Regions from separate parts of the Homo sapiens genome. Here regions 2 and 3 are each linked to region 1. The links are contacts of gene promoters, found by promoter capture Hi-C in blood cells and fetal thymus (Javierre and others, 2016). All regions are on one chromosome and are shown on one strand. The core of a region is centred on a gene start or on the middle of the fragment in contact, and the rest is flanking DNA. Distances in the headings are between cores, read along the strand shown.

Region 1 (4,901 bases), core at 1,056-3,555:
TCAACTCCTGTGCATGGCATATAAGGACCTTCATGATCCAGCCACTGCTTCCTTCTCCAGCTTCATTTTTTACCACCACCACCAACTTCCTGGGGTTTGCATAACTGTGGGCTTTTAGTAGCTCCAACTTATTCAAAATCTACTGCTGGACACGGTGGTTCACGCCTGTAATCCCAACACTTTGGGAGGCAGAGGTGAGAGGACTGCTAAGCCCAGGAGTTTAAGACCACCCTGGGCAATAGTGAGACCCCATCTCTACAAAAAAATAAAAAATTAGCTGAATGTAGTGGTGAGTGCCTGTGGGAAGCAGTTAAGCATCCAAGGAAATTAAGAGTATTGCTTATAGTAGAAAAGAATAAAGATCTCAAATCAGTGATCTGTTTCCACCTTAAGAGGCTAGAAAAAGAACAGCAAATTAAACCCAAAGTAAGTTAAGGGAAGCAAAAATAAAGATGAGCAAAATAATTAGAAAAGGCCCCTCACCAGCCTGGGCAATATAGCAAGACCTCATCTGTACAAAAAATACAAAAATTAGGTGTGATGGTACACGCCTGTAGTCTCAGCTGCTGGGGAAGCTGAAGTGGGAAAATCATTGGAGCCTGGAAAGTTGAGGCTGCAGTGAGCTGAGATCTTGCCACTGCACACTTAGGCAACAGAGACCTTGTCTCAAAAAAAAATTAAAATTAAAAAAATCTACACATCACCTTATCTTGAGAACTTCACCTGTTGTTCAGGACTGGGTATCGCACAGCCCACACATGCCCACACTACAGCAATGACCTCCGGTATTGTAACTGTCTACATTAGGAGTCAGTAGGGAGTAGGAATTAAGAACAGGGGCTCTAGAGTTCAGCTGTTTGGGTTCTAGTGTCAGACCCAGCACTAGCTCTGTAACCTCTCTGAACCTCAATTTGCTTCTCAGTAAAATGGAGATAGCTACCTCATGGGATTCTTGTAGTTAATGTATGTGGACCCAGGTCCATGTAATATGGATTCAATAAATGTTAGCTATCTTGAAATTGCATTCCTCATTTAGACTCTAAGTTGTTTGAAGGCAGAAATGGATCTTCCGAACATAGCTCTCAGTTCACCCTCGAGAAATGTTCATTGAGTCAGTTAAGAGGCCTGGGGCCAAACTGCTGCGGACCTGTTTTCACATTTGTCAAATGTCTGGATTGCACTTCAGATATTTAAAGTCTGTATGACTCCTAACATTCATTCATTCATCAAATATTTGTTGACAACCTATTATGTGCCACTCACTCTGCTAGACAACGGGGGAAGGGACAGGCTGGAGGAGCCCGTGAGGTAGCAGGGCCAGACCACCAGTTTGGAGCCAGACAGGCCCGGCTGTGTGAATTCTTGCTGTCACAAGTCAAAAACAGTTGTGTAAGCCACTTGATTTCTCTGAACCTCAGCTTCTCTATGGGCAAAAGGGGATGGGTATATTTTCCCCAGAGATCTGTGATGAATATTGAAAGGGTTAAGCTGTGTAGTGTCCCAAGCACAAGCCAATGAAATGTTGGTGGACGTCCTCATTCTACTCCCACCTCCTCAGCTCCCTTACAGGGAAAGGAGATACGCGTGTAGGTAAATATCCTATGCGCCAAGTCAGACCTAGGAGTGGGAACAGAATTCACAGCTGGGATCCAGAAGCATTTCTAGGCGCACCCTTTGAGGAGTAGGTAGGAATTGGACTCCTGGAAATTCCAGGCCCAGGGAAGAAAGCGAATTGTGAGGAGGAACGGTGGTCTGGGTCTGAACGGCTCTGAGAGGTCTTCAAGTTTGGGGGATGACGTTGGGCTGTACGATCCTAGGAACAAGAGGGTGGACATCTCCCCCCAACCAACACACCCGCGCCGGGCCCTGGGACCTCCCGGCGGATACCCTTTCCCAGTCCCGCTTCCCGCGAGGTCCCAGGTGCAGCAGGAGCGGGTGGCCGCTTGGCCACAGGAGGGCAGCAGCGGCCCTTCCTGACCCCACCCCGAGCACCTCTTAACTTTCCCGACGCCGGTCCTCCCCTAGGGGATTGAAGGCTGGGCAGAGTCTGAGTCCACCCGGGTCGTGCTCCCCCCGCTCGCCCGGCTCCTCCGCAGTCCAGGAATCTCCCCGTGGCTCTCCCCGACCTGGAGGGGTGGACGCCCCTGGCCCCCAGTCCCCGGCCTGCGGAGGGGGCCGGTGGCTGCGGCCCTGCGCGGGGCCGGGGCGGGCCGAGCCAAGGGCCGCCCCCGGCCGACCCTCCCCCTGCCGGGCCCGCCCTCCCCGCCGCGGCGCTGGAGGAGGGCGGGGCGGGGCCCTGGGGTCAGTCTGAGCCTCCGGCACCGGCCGCGCAGCTGGAGGCGGCGGAGCGGAAGGTACCCTGGGCCGGGGCTGCGGGCGGTGGGGCGTCTTGGGAACTCGTCCCCAGGAGAGCACTTTCCCTTCCTCGCTGGCCCGGAGATCGGGGCCCGTGCGAGGAGGGGCTTCGGCCTGGGCGTGGACCCCGTTCCCTCCAAGCGGAGTCGGCATCCGGGCTGGGCGGTGGTCGGACCGCGTCGGCCCCTCCCCGGGCTGCAGCGAGGGGGCCCGGACCTGCCGGCAGGGGCTCTGGCCTCCTGAGGTCCGAGTCGGAGCCCCTTCCCTTCTCCTCCCAGCTTCCCGGAACCTGCCCCGCCGGGCGAGGGGCGAGGGAACTTCAACTCAGACGCCCCAGCCCCCAGGGTGGGCGGCCGCAGGGGACCTAGAGTGGGATGGGGTGGGAATTCCTCCAGGCCAGGAGGGAGGTATGGCGGGAATAGGGGCGGGATGTGACCATTGGGGCCTGCCACTGCTCGGCAGGGTCTGGACGCCGCCCTGGACGGTTCCTGGAGCCCGCTTGTGTTGAGGATAAGGGAGATGGGGAAGGATCCAACTCTGTGTGTGTGTGTGTGTGTGTGTGTGTGTGTGTGTGTGTGTGTGTGTGTGTGTGTGTGTGTGTGTGTGTGTGTGGTGTGTGTGTGTGTGTGTGTGTGTGTGTGTGTGTAGAGAGAGAGAGAGAGAGAGAAAATGAGATTGAGAATCCTCCTTCTTCATACTCGAACCAAGAAAGAGTATCCTGGGGTTTGGGACTGGGATCCCGAGGCCGAGTCCCGCCCTCACTCTGGTTTTAAAGTTGAGAATGCAGTATCTCTTGGTATCTCCAGAACGGATTCCTTCCCTAGGTGTAGGGTGGGCCGGCAAAGTCAACCGGCCGCTCTGGATCATCTGGGAATTCAAGAGAGCGATTGGAGAGAGGTCTGATGTAGCCACACTGTCTTGTCTTGGGGAAGGCCCCAGAAGTTCCAGGCTCCATTCCAGGCCCTGTGTGGGGCTCAGTTGCCCCTCTTAAGGGGTCAGTGGGACAGTCCCTCTGGGGCTGCCTCTCACAGGGAGTTGTCCATGCCATCTTGGCCTTGGGCCTAGTGTCCTGGCCTGGGCTGCCTGCTGTTCTGGCCCAATCATAGCCTGGAGGGAAAGTCTTCTAATTGGGCTGGAGGCTCCAGGTCCCTTAACGCATGCCTCAACCCCGGGTTTCTGTCCTCTGCCTCCCACCACTCTGGTGCCGTCTGAATTACCCTGCTGGGGGGACAGCAGTGGCATACTCATGCCTAAGTGACTGGCTTTCACCCCAGTAGTGATTGCCCTCCATCAACACTGCCCACCCCAGGTTGGGGCTACCCCAGCCCATCTTTACAAAACAGGGCAAGGTGAACTAATGGAGTGGGTGGAGGAGTTGGAAGAAATCCCAGCGTCAGTCACCGGGATAGAATTCCCAAGGAACCCTCTTTTTGGAGGATGGTTTCCATTTCTGGAGGCGATCTGCCGACAGGGTGAATGCCTTCTTGCTTGTCTTCTGGGGAATCAGAGAGAGTCCGTTTTGTGGTGGGAAGAGTGTGGCTGTGTACTTTGAACTCCTGTAAATTCTCTGACTCATGTCCACAAAACCAACAGTTTTGTGAATGTGTCTGGAGGCAAGGGAAGGGCCACTCAGGATCTATGTTGAAGGGAAGAGGCCTGGGGCTGGAGTATTCGCTTCCTAAAGGGCAGTGTGAGGTGGTGGTGGGGTGTGGGGAGTAGAGGCGTTCAGTCAGCCCAGTTTGACAGGATGTGGGACTGAGAGAAAAAGCTAGGTTTGAGGCTGAGATCAGGTTACCGTCGCTTTCTTAACTGCTCCCTGCCTGGTTGGTGCTGGGACTGGCCCTCATTTGTCTCTTCTTTTGGGGCTCCTCCCAGCCCAGACTCTAGCCCCCTCCCCCTTCCCAACAGCCTTGACTTCATCTCAGCTCCAGAGCCCGCCCTCTCTTCCTGCAGCCTGGGAACTTCAGCCGGCTGGAGGTCAGTTCCCCTCCCCAGGGAAGGAGGAAGTGAGGGAAGCTGCGAAGGTGTGATGAACTGTGCAGATGCTCGCTGTGTGTGCTGGGGGTGGGGGACACATGGAAGCCCGGGAAGCTGACTCCTTGCCCTGAGTCACAGGGAGGGGTGGGCAGGGCATGCGGGTGAGCTGGACTGAGGGAGGAAGGGGCTGTTCCAGAGTGGGTGGAGGTGATTCCCTGGTGGATTCTTCTCAGTCACTGTGCTGTGGTAGATGTGTGGCTCCCTACAGTGTGGTCATTGTCCCCTGCCGGGGGCTGAGTGACCCAGTGTTGCTGGCAGGCCTAGGAGGAAGGGGGGAGGAAGGCAGCCTGCCCAAACTCGAGCTGTGGGCATTGCTGGGACTGAGCCTCCTTTGTATTACTTGGGGCTTTGGGGACCGGGTGGGGTGGACCAGGGAAGCTGGCTGGCTGCTACCCCTGTCCTCTGTCTGGGTTTCCCTGCTTCTGCTCTCCCTCCTGCCCCTGAGGTGACATGTCGAAGAGGCACGACTTTGAGTCACACAGTCCTGCTTTGGGTGCTGTCCCTGCCCC
Region 2 (4,901 bases), core at 1,777-4,276, 1.0 Mb before region 1:
GATTACAGGCGTGAGCCACCACGCCTGGCCCCTTTTACTACTCTTTAGCATACTGTTTGAGATACATTTGCTAAGATGAGCAAAACATTCTAATTAATATTAATTAATATTATCTTTTCTTTTTTGTGTGTTTTATTTTTAAAAATTAATATTAGAGTGAACAAAAATCACTGTTTGAAGATAGCATGGTTTTGTATTTAGAGAATAAAAAAGGCTAATCAGAAGCACAGAGACTACTTCAGCTGTATTTATAATGTTTTATTTAAGCAGGATGGTGGCCATATGATAGATGACACTGACACTCCTCATTAAAGATGACAGTTTGAGGCCATGCGTGGTCGCTCACGCCTATAATCCCAGCACTCTGGGAAGCCGAGGTTTTTGCTCGAGGCCGGGAGTTTGGGACCAGCCTGGGCAACATAGCTCTACAAAAAGATAAAAAAATTAGCTGGGTGTGGTGGGCATGTGCCTGTAGTCCCAGATACTGGGGAAGCTGGTTGGGGGGGATCGCCTGAGCCCAGGAGTTTGAGGCTGTGGTGTGCTATGATTGTGCCACTGCACTCTAGACGGGGTGACAGAGCAAGACCCTGTCCTGAAAAAAAAACAAAAACAAAACAAAACCCAAAAAATGGTAGTTCAAATACATGCACTAATCTCTCCTGAAACCTCTTTAAAAGTACAACAGATAAGAAAAAATCATGGCAGCCTGCAAGGACTTAAAGAATGGAAGAAGAGACTACAGTAAATGAGAGCTATCAATACAATTTCGAAGGTTGGAAAATGAAAGAAGTAAAACTCTTAAGTGCCTGCAATAGGGAAAGCCAATAGGAAACAAGTAAAACCCCTGTAATTAACTTCTGAAAGACTCAGGAATTAGATGTATCAGGTATAATCTGTAGGAGTGAGAAAGAACTAAAGACAGGATTGTTTGAACATGTGTATAAGGGATAATAGATCTACCCCCAGATCTTCCTTATTCCATGTAGCCACATAGTTACCCTTATCTTCCTCTGACAGAAGACCGGGTTGAAGCTTGCTCTCTGGAGAGGCTGAGCCAGAGAAGTTCTGGATTCTGGAAGACCAGAAACAAATCAGAGTCTGGTGAGATGCTGCACTAATAATGGGGATTAAGTGAAAGTCTGGTCGTCAGATTTATAATCTGCAAACAGAAGACTGGAATTTCTTTTCGTCAAAACTGAGTAACCAAAGAGAACCTAAGGATACTGAAAAGTGAAATGACTGGCCACGCCTCTATAGTGAGGTCCACTATTCAAAATGCTTCACGCATTGCACACTGAGCTTGCATTCAGTGTGTTAGTGACTGTTAATTATAAATGGATAATTAAAGATCATCAAATATTTAAGACCTAAAGAAAAAGAAGAAAAGAGAAAAGAAGCAATGCAGGAATCATAAAAACAGTGTTTTTAAAGATATAATTACTACCTTTAAAGAACTGGATACTATAAAAAGACTGAGATATCTTCAGGACATCTATTGTATAACATTGGTGACTATAGTTAGTATGTTGTATTCTTGAAAAATGCTAAGAGAGTGGATATTAAGTGTTCTCACCACACAAATAATAACCATGTGAGGTAATGTATATATTAATTTAGTCATTCTACAGTGTATATCCACTTCAGAATATGTTGTACACACTGAATACATAGAATATTATCTGTCAATTTAAAAATTAAGAATGCTTAAAAAATAGACTATAGATTAGAAAGTGAGAAGACTAGAAAATAAAAATAATCAGAATAAATTCAGGGGTGGCTGGGTACAGTGGCTCACGCCTGTAATCTCAGCACTTTGGGAGGCCGAGGCTGATCGCTTGAGCCCAGGAGTTCAAGATTAGCTTGGGCAACATGGTGATACCCTGTCTTTACAAAAAATACAAAAAAATTAGCTGGGCTTGGCGTTGCATGCCTGTAGTCCCAGCTACTTAGGAGGCCGAGGTGGGAGATCATCTGAGCCTGGGAAGTCGAAGCTGCAGTGAGCCGTGATTGCACCACTGCACTCCAGCCTGGGTGACAGAGTGGGACCCTGTCTCAAAAATAAACACATAAATAAATAAAAATTAAAATAAATTCAGTGGAAAAGTTAGAAGATAAATTTGAGACCATTTCCCAGAAAAGTAGTATAAAAATGAACAACAAAAAAGAAAATAGCAAAGTGAGTGCAATTCATGCAGGAAATGTAATATCCAACTAATAGATGTTCCAGAAAAAGGAAATACATGGAGAAGAAGAAATTAATAAATAATTTTAAAAATTGCCCCAGAAATGCAGTACTGTGTATGTATTTCCAGATTAAAAGGATCTTTTCGTTGGGCATGGTGGCTCACGCCTGTAATCCTAGCACTTTGGGAGGCTGAGGCAAGAGGATCCCTTGAACTCAGGAGTTTGAGACCAGCCTGGGCAACAAAGTGAGATCCTATCTCTACAATAAAATTTAAAAATCAGCTGGGTGTAGTGGTGTGTGCCTGTAGTCGCAGCTACTCAGACGGCTGAGGTGAAAGGGTCCTTTGAGCCTGGGAGTTCAAAGGTGCAGAGAGCCGTGAATACAACACTGCACTCTAGCCTGGGCGACAAGCGAGATTCTGTCTCAAAAGAAAAAGGAAAATAAAAGGATCTTTTGAGTCATCAGCACTGAGAAACATTATCATGAAATTTCAGAACATTTAGAATTAGAGCTTGGGTTAAGCATGGAGTAGAGTGAAGGATCAAAACGGATCATGTAGACAAAAATTGGGAGTCAGAGATACTGCCCCTCAGCAGCAACTTCTAGCTCATTTGGAAGCTAAAAGATAATGGAATGTTCAGTGGAAGGTGAGGGACAATGGCACATGAGAGAAAGTGATTTTCAACCTGAAGTTTTATGCCCAGCCTAATTATTAATCAAGTGCAAAGGCACCACTGATATATTTTGAACTTAGAGTCTCAAAATTCATATCCCATACTCCCTCTCTCAGAAAGCTGTGGGAGGACATGTACTGTATTATAATCCATGAATAAGCCAGAAAGGAATTCATAGTGTCAGAAAACAGGACAGCCAACACAGCAAAGTAAAAGGAATTCCAGGATAATTGCAAATGTCTCAGGATGATACCTTATATCTGACCTAGAAAACAACCAGTCCAGAATGGAGTATGAGGACAGAAAATTGATATAGAACTCTTGAAGGGGGAAAACTAAACTGATATATGTTGTGTTCGAGCATATTGGAAGCAGATATGTAACAGAGGGAGTTTAAAGATGAATTAGTAATAGAAGATTAAGTGCATTAAAAAATGAGGCAATTACAGTTCTAGGACAAGCAAAAAATTTGTGAGAGGAAAATATAATAGTTCACTACTTGGCTTAGCTGTGAACAATATTTATGTAATTATAACCCTCTAAACATTGATGTAACAAAAATTTGTGATAAAACTCTATTGGAAAAAACTATAGTTCAGGAGGGCGTGCGTGTTTGGTGATGCTGTAATCATTAATAGTGTGTAGTATGTCTTGCATTGTTTTAAGCAACACACACAATTGATCCTCATGATAATCTTATGAGGTATGTGCTATTATCTTCCCTTTTTTATAGGTGAAGGAATTGAGGCATAGAAAGGCTAAATAAGAGTTATTTCCTCATCTTCAACAGTAAGAAATGAATGGATAACATCTGAAATTGATGAAAGCACTGTAAACATTTTTTGTTTTAGAAGTAAAGAGAAGAAATAGCTAGGATGTATGAATCAAGGGTAAGGAAGGGTGAGACTGGAATGTTATTTTTTATTAACCTTGTAATATGAGTATTATTTTAGTACAAATAAAGATTTAATTTTACAACATTTTTCCTCCAAAACCAAATAATACATTAAATGATGTTACCTGAGTAATAGGATATACATATATTTCCATATGCGATAGGTAGATTTAGAGGTATGTGAGTATTTACGTATATTGGCTATACCAATATGCTTTATTTATACCGGTGCCAAAACCAACAAATCTCCTTAGCATTTAGGCAAGAAATTTAGAGTCAGATGGACTGAACTGTATATTATAGTAATTTTCCTAATTATTCACTACCTGTAATTATTCTTACCTGTAAGAAGATTATATGGCTGCACTTACTGTCATGTGAGTTGCAGTGCCTTCCTATAAGAGAAGAATTCTTCCTGGCCCCACAGACTTCCACCTTAGTCAGGGGATTTGCTTGGCCAGTGGAATGTGAGCTGAATGTGACCTTCCTCCCATGACCCAATACTTTTCATTTTCTTACCTTTCCTATTCAGTGAATTGCTAAAGTACTGAAGTCAGGGTTTAGAGTTCTTCACCTTCACACTAATCTCACATTTTCAGTTACCAATACTTCTGGATGATACCTGCTAAATATCTTTTGAATATGAGTACTCTTCCCAGTTCACGCTTCTAATTACCTGGTCTAACCTATTGTCTACTCATCTGGTTGGCAAACTATTGCTTATGTGCAAATCTAGCTGAAACACAGCCAGGTTTAGTGCTTTACATATTTATATTCAATGTCTGTGTCTGCTTTAGTGCTACAGTGGCTGAGTGGTTGTGACAGAGATTGTATAGTCCAGCAGTCCCCAACCTTTTTGGCACCAGAGACCAGTTTCATGGAAGACAGTTTTTCCATGGACTGGTGTGGGGGGATGGTTTTACAATGATTCAAGCACATTACAATTATTGTACACTTTATTTCTATTATTACCTTATAATATATAATGAAATAATTGTACAGCTCACCATAAGGTAGAATCAGTGGGAGCCCTTAGCTTGTTTTTCTGCAACTAGACAGTCCCATCTGGGGGTGATGGGAGACAGTGACAGATCATCAGGCATTAGATTCTCATAAGGAGCATGCAACCTAGATCCCTCGAATGTGC
Region 3 (4,901 bases), core at 1,668-4,167, 1.0 Mb before region 1:
AAATATATATATATATATATATCCGGGTGTGATGGTATGCACCTGTAGTGCCAGCTACTCAGGAGGCTGAGGCAGGAGGATCATTTGAGCCCGAGTTTGAGGTTGCAGTGGGCTATGATCATGCCACTGCACTCCAGCCTGGGTGACAGAGCGCGACCCTGTATCAAAAAATAAAAAAGCATTATTGTTACGTGAAGCCCTGTGAAAAAATGAATTCATGGTGATTGACTTCTGAAGGCTTTCAAGCCATTGCTGTAGATAAGTTGTTTTAATTTTATTTCACATGTAATTATTTTTAAAGATGAATAACATTTTTTGCTTTTTGTTTTCCTTTAAAGGGCTCTAGATCGGGTGTGAGTGGTGGCTCTCGAAGCCTCAACATGTCAAGAAGAGACTCAGAAAGCACCCGCCATGACTCGGAGACTGAGGACATGTTATGGGACGACCTGCTACATGGCCCAGAGTGCCGGTCATCTGTCACCAGTGACAGTGAGGGGGCCCATGTGAATACCCTTCACTCAGGGACCAAACGTGACCCCAAAGAGGATGTTTTTCAGCAGGTCTGTGCAGACATGATAAGAATAGCTAGTATTTATTGTGTTCTTACTGTGTGTCAGGCACTCTGTCATCTCATTTAACTTTACAATCATCCTGTAGGGTAGATACTATTATTATCCCCAGTTTAGAGGTGAGGAAACTGAGCATAGTCTATAAGTGAAGATGTTGGGATTAGAACTCAGGGAGAAGTAATCTAGAGTTGCCCTAACCTAAATTTTTCTGTATATTACTTTTTCTTATTATTTTCCTTAGAATGGTCCTTTATGTGTATTTTATATTTTATATGAGTAGAGTTTGCATATAGAGAATATACCTTATATTTTCATGAACATCACAGTGTTACATATGAATTACTAGGAAATGGTATTGCTTGCTTTTTGAACAATGCATAAAATAAATAATGCTTTTAATTTCAGGTTTTATATTAATATCATAAAGTCAGATAGCCATTAGAAGGTATTTCAACCTTCCAACCAATGTAGAGATTCATTCTACATCTGTGTAAATTTTTTACCATCTGTTATGTGGTGATAATAGTTCTTACTTCTTAGGAATAGTGTGAAATAGCTAATGAGATAATATAAAGTACATAGCATAATACCTGGCAAGAGTAAATACCCAATAAATGTTAGCATTATTATTTATATCTCCATCAGATGATCAATTGGCCTCTTAAATACTTCTGGAGCTGGAATGCTTGTTATTTAATGATACAGCTTATTCCACTTCTGGATAGATTGAATGATGAAGAAATAGTTCACTTATCAACCTTTCAGTTGCTTAATGTCAATGATTGTTATGATTCTTAGGTTTTTGTTCTTTAGGCTAAATATTTCCACATTGTCTTGCAAATAGTGGATGATGGATATATATTTGTTTAATTGTCAAATATTCTTGATTCAAAAATACCATTGATTTAGGTTATACATTTTCATTTAAAAAATCGCTTCATTAAATGTATATAATTTTTAAAAAATGAACAAGAAACAGTGTAAATTTTCTCATTAAAGTTTTCTTTTTTGGGACAGAGCTCACTCTGTTGCCCAGGCTGGAGTGCAGTGGTGCAATCATGACTCACGGCAGCCTTAACCTCTCCAGCTCAAGTGATCCTCCCACCTCAGCCTCCTGATTAGCCACCATGCTTGGCTAATTTTTAAATTTTTTGTAGAGACAGGGTCGCACTATGTTGCTTAGGCTGGTCTTAACTCCTGGGTTCAAACAGTCCTCCCACCTTAGCCTCCCAAAGTGTTGGGATTACAGGGGTGAGTCACCATACCTGGCTCTCATTAAAATTTTATGCTACTTTTTCTGATTTTGCAGTGAGGCTAAATATTTTTTGCATTCAGTCTGAAGATTCATCTAAATTACATTAGTTTTCAGTAGTTATGCATAGTATCACGATGATGTTGATCTCCGTAGCACTCCCCTCCTTTGAGATTTGCAGTATAATTTTAAGACATATATAAGAATAATTGAGTGTGGTAAACTCACCATGTCAAATGCAATAAATCATTTTCCAATCCTGTTCACGTAGCCTATTCTTTTATTCCCTGTATTTCTTAATACCACACTACCCACCCAAGTCAAAAAGCTTGAAGTCATTCTTGACCCCATTTTTTTTTTTAGATGGAGTCTTACTCTGTCACCCAGGCTGGAGTACACTGGCACAATTTTAGCTCATTGCAACCTCCGCCTTCCAGGCTCAAGTGATTCTCCTGCCTCAGCCTCCTGAGTAGCTAGGATTACAGGTGCCTGCCGCCTGCCACCACACCTGGCTAATTTTTGTATTTTTAGTAGAGATGGGGTTTCGCTGTGTTGGCCAGGCTGGTCTCGAACTCCTGACCTCAAGTGATCCACTCACCTCGGCCTCCGAAAGTACTGGGACTACAGGCGTGAGCCACCGCGCCCAGCTGGCCCCATTCTTTCCACCCTTAGTCGCTTATGTTCTTTTGATTCAGCTGTCTAAATACCTGCATCTCTCTGTTTCTGGTCACCCTGCTTGGTGCAGGCCATCATTTTATCTCAACTGGATCATTACAGTAGCTTCTGTAGGGTTGCCTCTGTTCCTTTCATTTTCCTTGCTACAGCCAGAGTGATAATTCTAAAATACAAATCTGATAATGCCACTTCCTTTAAAATCCTTTTTTCTTCTTTCTGGATTGCTTGCTTCTGTTCCTTTATTTGTTCTAATACAGTCTCATCTCTGACCATTCCCTCCCTCCTCCTCACATGGTGAACTTCGACTCAACTAACCTTCTTTGTTTCTGATGTGTACCAGGCCTCATGTGCCTCTGGGCCCTTATGCATACAGGTTTCTTTGCCTGGGACATAATTTTCTCTAATGCCAATTCTTTTGGTTCATTCCTTTTTATTTCCAGGCAGGTCTTGGCTTGAGTGATGCTTCCTTCAGGAAGCCTTTCTTATATACTCCTAAAGCACTCTTGCCTTTCCTTACCATGCTGTATAGTAACTTCCTTCAGAAGTCTATAAGCTCCTTGATAGCAAGGACATCTATCTTGTTCTCCATTTTATCCACATGCATGATACATAGTAGGTGCTTAATATGAATTGTATAAGTCAGTGAATCAATCAAGTCAGTGATTCAAATCAATAAATACTTGTTGGCATTATGCTAAGCATGGTGGTAGAAGAGAAAAAATATGCCAGATGGTCCTTTTCTAGAAGATTATCTTTTAGTTTGGGAACAAGATAATTATATAGGAAACAAATAGAGGACAACATAAAAGCACCATATAATAAGATGTTAATTTGTCTGATACAGACTGTAGAAGTTTTTCATTTCAGAGAAGGGCAAAGTTAGTAAGACTGAGGCTGTCAGAGAGGACCATGTTGGTGAAATGGGACTTGAGCTAGTATTTAAAGAATAAGACATGATATGGCAGAGGAGGAGAGGGAGCTGTTTTCATTGTGACTGTCTCCACTTGAGCTTTTCTAAGCCTCACTAATTTTGTGTCCTGGTTAGACCAGAAACAGACTTAACTCCTCAGTCATTCATGTGATTTATAAGGCCTTTTAGTATCTCTCTTCCTTTACTTCCTATTACTCCCAGTGTAATCTCGTAGCTCTAGAAATTCTTTCTTAATAGCCCATGACTACACTAAGCTTATCCTCACTTCCATACCTTTAGAGAGGGAAGCAACCTTGGAGATCATGGACTATCTCTCCTCATAACAGAAGACATTTAGTCTCTCTCTAGATGAGAGAATGGCTTAGTAAGGAAAAATGGACCTAGCGAGCCATGGTGGTATGTGCCTATGGTCCTTGCTACACAGAAGGCTGTATAGAGGGAGGCAGATGGGAGGATTGCTTGGGCCCAGGAGTTTGAGACCAGCCTGGGCAACATAGTGATACCCTGTCTCAAAAAAAAAAAAAAAAAAAAAAAAGAAAGAAAGAAAGGACCAGCATTATAGAGGTGGTTATTAGAGTGTTGGCAAATGAATGGAGCCTGGGAAAGAAAAACTAATGGAGGCAAGAGGGCATGGATAGAAACAATTTTATATTTTTCTTCTCAGAATCATTTATTCTGGCTTCAGAATTCAAGTCCTTCCTCTGATCGAGTTAGTGCAATAATCTGGGAGGGGAATGAGTGCAAAAAGATGGATATGTCTGTGTTGGAAATAAGTGGCATCATCATGAGCAGGGTAAGACTGAATATGTTTTCAGATTTTTCAAAAAATATACGAAGTGATCAGGAGCTATTTTATAAGAATCTCTTAGTGATTAAAACAGTATGACTCTGCTTTTGAAGCACATATATATCATATTATATATAATAACATTATTAACATATATATGTAATTTTGTAGTCAGAGTCTTTACATGGTAGTATATACATTATTTGTTATACCTGGTCTCTATTAACATAATCAACTGTTCAGGTATGCTCTACAGATATTCCTTATCTCATTGAATCCCAATTTTTAATAAGATTTGAAAGTCATAAATCTGTATGTCATTTGTATTTATACTTTTAGAATGTGTTTTTAATAGTCTAAATAGTGTTTGATAAATACTGCTTTGTAACTCCATTTAGCTAACACAATAATGGTGGAAATTTTAAATTAATTCACAGGTCAATGCCTATCAGCAAGGAGTAGGTTATCAGATGCTGGGAAATGTTGTCACTATTGGATTAGCATTTTTTCCATTCTTACATCGACTTTTCCGTGAGAAGAGCCTTGACCAACTAAAGTCCATTTCAGCTGAGGAGATCTTGACTCTCTTTTGTGGGGCACCACCTGTTACACCTATTATTGTTTTGTCGATAATTAATTTTTTTGAAAGATTGTGTCTTACTTGGATGTTTTTTTTCATGATGTGTG

Evidence for each region. The method cuts DNA at HindIII sites, captures the fragments that hold promoters and counts their contacts. A CHiCAGO score of 5 or more calls a contact.
Region 2: a fragment that was not itself captured here is called in contact with the fragment with the promoter of RHOC in region 1 in 1 of 17 cell types (neutrophils); the score reaches 5.4 in neutrophils.
Region 3: a fragment that was not itself captured here is called in contact with the fragment with the promoter of RHOC in region 1 in 1 of 17 cell types (monocytes); the score reaches 5.3 in monocytes.

What each region holds. Positions count from the first base shown.
Region 1 is chr1:112,704,531-112,709,431 of GRCh38, reverse strand. RHOC (ras homolog family member C) reads left to right here and starts at 2,305. Exons shown (of 6, transcript NM_175744.5): 1 at 2,305-2,354; 2 at 4,264-4,332. RefSeq lists a silencer at 1,866-2,585 and enhancers at 3,845-3,894, 4,642-4,901. The HindIII fragment of the contact is 12,151 bases long and covers 1-4,901 here.
Region 2 is chr1:113,745,706-113,750,606 of GRCh38, reverse strand. All of the region lies in intron 3 of PHTF1 (putative homeodomain transcription factor 1), which reads left to right. Among named protein-coding and RNA genes, the nearest start is that of PHTF1, 11 kb to the left of the region's middle. RefSeq lists a silencer at 886-1,180. The HindIII fragment of the contact is 3,984 bases long and covers 1,035-4,901 here.
Region 3 is chr1:113,705,913-113,710,813 of GRCh38, reverse strand. It overlaps PHTF1 (putative homeodomain transcription factor 1), which reads left to right. Exons shown (of 19, transcript NM_001323043.2): 11 at 339-560; 12 at 4,092-4,220; 13 at 4,652-4,901. Among named protein-coding and RNA genes, the nearest start is that of PHTF1, 51 kb to the left of the region's middle. The HindIII fragment of the contact is 1,532 bases long and covers 2,152-3,683 here.